2 separate regions of the Homo sapiens genome follow, and region 2 is linked to region 1. The links are contacts of gene promoters, found by promoter capture Hi-C in blood cells and fetal thymus (Javierre and others, 2016). All regions are on one chromosome and are shown on one strand. Each heading gives the region's core, a stretch centred on a gene start or on the middle of the fragment in contact. The rest is flanking DNA. Distances are from core to core; before and after follow the strand shown.

The links. Contacts are between HindIII fragments. The CHiCAGO score rates a contact against its expected background, and 5 or more counts as called.
Region 2: the fragment with the promoter of ZNF256 here is called in contact with the fragment with the promoter of ZNF772 in region 1 in 12 of 17 cell types (erythroblasts, fetal thymus, non-activated CD4 T cells and 9 more); the score reaches 10.0 in erythroblasts.

The regions. Positions count from the first base shown.
Region 1 is chr19:57,476,223-57,478,914 of GRCh38, forward strand. It overlaps ZNF772 (zinc finger protein 772), which reads right to left and starts at 1,344. Exons shown (of 4, transcript NM_001144068.2): 1 at 1,055-1,344; 2 at 412-450. The coding sequence starts at 1,087. RefSeq lists enhancers at 545-1,068, 659-1,858. The HindIII fragment of the contact is 1,804 bases long and covers 999-2,692 here.
Region 2 is chr19:57,946,405-57,949,096 of GRCh38, forward strand. ZNF256 (zinc finger protein 256) reads right to left here and starts at 1,302. Exons shown (of 3, transcript NM_005773.3): 1 at 1,038-1,302. The coding sequence starts at 1,070. RefSeq lists enhancers at 711-790, 1,281-1,380, 1,451-1,540. The HindIII fragment of the contact is 12,388 bases long and covers 1-2,692 here.

The sequences.
Region 1 (2,692 bases), core at 94-2,593:
AATGCACTACCACTGTGAAATGAATATTCTCTTTTAACTCCCAATCTACATAATCATCTTTAAGCCATTTCAGGATGATTCCCGCCCCCTTGCTCTTGGTTCCCACCAGACATGACAGAGACCTGCAATTTCTTGAAAACTCCCTTCTCAGTCTCACCTCTAAGTATTTTGCACAGGCTGGTTCCTGTGCCTGGAACAACCTTCCAACCTTATTCCAATGGTTGGCAGAAATGGAAACCCCTCCATAAAACCCCTGGCCCGGAGTCAGGACCCTGGGCTTGGGGCTTCTCCAGAGTCCTCAGACCCAAGAGATCGGAGAGTAGCAGGAGAGTGTTCTATATAACACCACAATGCTGGAGAGCGTATTGGGTGGGGGTGGGATCGGTGAGAGCATGGACATTCTCCCCTCACCTGTATAGGGTCCACAATTACTTCTGAGTTCATGGGAACCTGTGGGGAAGAGGGAGACTATGCGAGTCAAGCAATCTTGAAGGAACCCCAAAGGCTCAACCCCATCCCATATTCCTACCCAGTTACAATGTGCCTGGGAGCTGAATGTCTACCCTCTGTGCTTCCATCTTCAAGGATACCTCTTAACTGTGTTAGCTCGGAACAGTGCTCATTATCCGCCCCCATGGCCAACAAGAGTCTGCCCTCCATGAGCAGTCTATGGAATACTTTTTAAACCCTCGGATTCTGGCTCTCCTCTGTTCAGAACCTTCCATGGCTCCCATCACCCTCAGAATAGAGACCCAGCTGCTCAGGATGATATTCCAGGTGCAATCACTTATAAAGCGCTCTGATCCTTTCAGACACTAAAGGCCCAGTTTTCCCAAATGCTCCAGCTGTGAACCATCTCTGAGCCTTTGCATACACTGGTCTCTCTGCCTGGAACGTCCTTCAACTCGTGCTGTCAAAATGGGTCCCAAACACGAGCGCCCCCACTGTTCTAGATACAGGGGCCTGAGCTGCAGTAACCCGAGGAATCGTTCATTCGAAGCTTTGGGATTCAGAGATGGGGGTCAGCGCGCAGACTCGCAGACGCAGCACCCACCTGTGCCGGGCCCATCGGCTCAGCCGCCGCCATCAGGCCTGTGGACTACGGAAGGGTGGCGACAAGTGCAGGAACCTGGGATCAGCTGTCCAGGGCCCAGCCCAGCGGCTAGGTCACTCAGGCAGCGCCACTGTCAAGCCTCAGGCCCACCTCTCTTCAGGGAAGAAGACACTCTCTCACGTTTTCCCTTTTCTGTCACCTCAGGTCTGACATTGCGTTCTGGAAACTAAACCAGTGGATTAATGGAAAAGCAAACAAAATGTCCACCCGAGGATGGTAGAGGAAGTCCCGCCCTGACGTTGGTGAGGACCAACGGAAACGCCTATTTCCTGGGTTTTCATTGGCCCAGAGCCGCCAAGTTTCCTGGGTAATGTAGTTCCCACGGCACCAACACTAGTAAGCGGCGTCTCGCTTCACCTCCAGGTTAAAAGCCCAGAGAAGACCGCCAGGGGCGCGTGGAAATGGTGTCCCTCGTCTCCAAGGCCCAGACGGAGCTTAGCTTCCTCTTGAAGGAGCCATATCTGTATTTCTGGTGAACGTCGTGTTTGACATCAAAGGAATGTTTAGAGACATGATTTCAGCCTTCCTTACGCAGAGAATGCTCATCAAAAAATAAAATGGACACACCATACACTGACGTCACTCAGATTTCTATGGCTGGAAGTTAACAAATATTGTTTTCAAATGCGTGTAGCCTGATGCTCCAGAGTTAGTTTGGCGAGCCTCAGCATTTTCTGTCAGGCACAAGAAAGAAAAGACTCCAGACACCATGATGTGGAACGTGGAGTGGGGATGTTTGGTGGCCTTGAAGTAAGTGAATAACCCTTCTGTCTGTTACCTCAGAAAATATTTATCCTGCTTATACAGCAGTGATTGTGTCAAACCCAACAAGTAATACTCTTGTTCAAGATAGTATTTCATACTCCATATACAGAGATGTATTCAATATTTTAAGTGTTTTACAAGTGTCTGAAAAGACAGAATTCATCAAATGTCATATGGCAATGAAAAGGGCAACATGAACACTTTCTGTAAAGAAGAAATAACCACCAAACTAGATGTCTATACACAACAAAATGTCTTTTATGGAAGTGTGATATAAAACTATTTGAAACCAAAAATGATAAATGTAATGGAAATACATTTACACAAAAAATAATGTTTAAAATAATACTCAAGGCCAAAGAAAGTTGATCTCAGGTGAAAAGTCTGCAATGAGAGAAGAAATGAAGATGAAAAGAAGTGCATCTTTTGATTAAAATAACAGCATATTACAGTGTAAAACATAAGTAGATATACTTATTGAGTTAGAATGATGGAATTCCCGTGCGTAACCTCAACTACATATAAATTGAAAGGAGGCTAGTTGCTCAAAGTTTTAAATTTTTTATATTTCCAAGTGGAAAGCAAATGTATTACAATCCTGTATGGCACGCTAATGTGTTAAACGTTTGTAATTTTTAGCCTAAATATAATAAATACAGTCAGCGTATATACTTTTCAAACTAGAAGAGGAAATGTTTGGAATATAAATAAATAATCAATAGAAAGGTAAAATAATAGTAAAATAAGTGGAAGAAGTGAGGCAAAGAAAAGCACAATGTAGGATATATTTAAACTGTCAACCTAAATAACAGA
Region 2 (2,692 bases), core at 52-2,551, 470 kb after region 1:
ATCTTAGTTGATGAAACTTCTTTCCCTACAGCTGCTAATACCAAAAACCCTGGAGTCTTCTCTGAACCCTCTGTTTCACTCCCTCACCACCTACATTATGTAATTTAGTTGTCCCTTTTGAAACCACACATCCGGAATCTAACCACATCTCCTAAATCACGATCCTGGGCCAGTAACCCTCACTTGGACTAGTCTACCCTGATTTTCCTTCCTCCTCCCTCAACCCCCCAGTTTGTGCCCCACTGTGCACACAGATGAAGCCTGTGAAGACCTTGGTAAATTACCTCTTTTTTCTGATTCAAACTTGCTATTACCTCCTGAAAACACACTCAACTTCTCAGGCAGCCACTGCAGTCCTGACGCCTATCCTCCTGTTCTTTGCTTCCCACCAGAAAGCAAGGAGACTTGTGGCTTCATAAATGCACCCAGCTCCGTACTGCACCTAAGCATTTGCACATCTTGTACCTTTCTGGAAAAACTTTCCACACCCGTTCACATGGCTGCCAGAAATTGGAACAACTCTATATACCGGCTAACATGGACATAGGACCCTGGGCTTGGGGTTCACCCAAGGTCTTCAGAACTAAGGGCTGGGGGAATGGCACTCCACAACCCAGAGAACCTGTGGGTGGGAGTTAGGGCTAGTGAGAGACTGGGAAACCCTCCCCTTCCTGGCGTAGATTTCATAACCCTTTACAGCCAAGGGAAACGTAGAAAGAGCCAGGCCTCAGAGAAGAGCATCTATGGCGGTATTAGATGGGCTCAAGCCACCCCGTAGCCCCATGCCTGGCCTTGGAGCCGGGTGCCCTCGCAATGGCTGTGTCACCTCTGTGCCCCAGGGCTCAGTGGCGCCTCTCATCAGGGGCTCCTTGCCAGTCGCGCCCTCCCTTCCCTAGCACACCAGGTGTTGGAAACGGGAGCCCCTCCGGCGAGCCCCCGTGTCCTGTCCTGGGCAGCAGGGCCGCGAGCAAGCGCCCTCGGGGGTGCTAGGACTAGCGTGGGGAGGGCGGGGAAGGCCCAGAGGACGCGGCACATACCTGGGCCGGGGCCGTCAGCTCGGCCGCCGCCATCTGACTCTGTGAGCGGAGCGGGGCCAGAGAGGATGTCCTTATTCCGGGCCGGGCCTGGGTACCCTGGGCGCCGCCGAGCCTCAGCCACGCCTCTGTGCAGCGGGGAAGACTCCTCTCGCGCCTTCTCAGTCAGTCACGGATGATGCTGACCCAGCGCTCCGGGGCTTTCTACCAAGTAATCAGTCCAGACAAATGCCAAAACGACCGCCACAAGGAGGACAACGGAAGTCCCGCCGCGACCGCGCGTGCGCTTACGGAAACACCACCTTTCGGAGGCCTCATTGGCTGAAGGTCGCCGTCGCCCAACGCAGGCCATTCTGGGTAATGTTCCCACAGGCGCACGGCGGGAGAGTGAGGGTCGCCTCCACCTCCTTCCGGAAGTAAAGGCCAAACCCCTGTAGGGGGCGCTGGGAAATGGACACTCCAGGTTGGGGCGGAGGCGAGGCTTCGTTCTTTCTTAAAGGAGACGTACCCAGGTTTCTACCGATTGCTGTCTGCCAGTGTTTGTTTGGAGACGTGTCATTTCATGTGTTCCCAGAGGCACATATCCAGATGCACATATTATTACATACAGTCAGTCAGTCACAAAATATATCCACTGGTTGAGAAAGCAAATAAATATGACTATGTTGCGGCCGGGCGCGGTGGCTCACGCCTGTAATTCCAGCACTTTGGGAGGTCGAGGCGGGCGGATCACGAGGTCAGGAGATCGAGACCATCCTGGCTAACTCAGCGAAACCCCGTCTCTAAAATACAAAAAATACCACAAAAAAAAAAAAAAAAAGAAAAATTAGCTGGGTGTGGTGGCGGGCGCCTGTAGTCCCCAGCTACTCCGGAGGCTGAGGCAGGAAAATAGCTTGAACCCGGGAGGCAGAGCTTGCAGTGAGCCGAGATCGCGCCACTGCACTCCAGCCTGGGGGAAAGAGCGAGCCACTGTCTCAAAAAAAAAAAAAAAAAAAAAAAAAAAAAAAGACTATGTTGCAATTCAAACGCATGCACTCAAGCACTGGAGTCAGTTTTCTCAGTCTCTGTATGTTTGATTAGGGACAAGAAAAAAAACACTCCACACAGGTTCATGACAAAGAGGATGAAGGTGGGATGCGGAGGCACCCTGCAGCAGCAGGACATAAGTAGATCCCTGTCTCTGGGTCCCTCTCGTGCCTGTGTAGTCAAACATTGTGTCCAATTCACTAAGCAACACTTGCATGAATCTAATCTCACTTTCTCCATGCCTTTATATTCACTTCTTTTTAATAATTTGACATCAAGCTCAGAAAGAGAACAACAAAAGGAATGGTATTTTGAAAAGGCATGATGGCTAGCTAGAGCATTAACAGGTGGAACAAAGGGTGCTCTGAATCCCAAATGTAGGGTGTATCTTAAATTCAAGATCTCTTCTCAACGCTGAAATGATTATCTTTGCCCCCATTAGTTACGCTCTTGTTGCCCAGGCTGGAGTGCAATGGTGCGATCTCGGCTCACCACAACCTCTGTCTCCCGGGTTCAAGCGATTCTCCTGCCTCAGCTTCCCAAGTAGCTGGAATTACAGGCGCCCGCCACCGTACCCGGCTAATCTTTTTTTTTTTTTTTTTTTTTTGTATTTGTATTTTTAGTAGAGACGG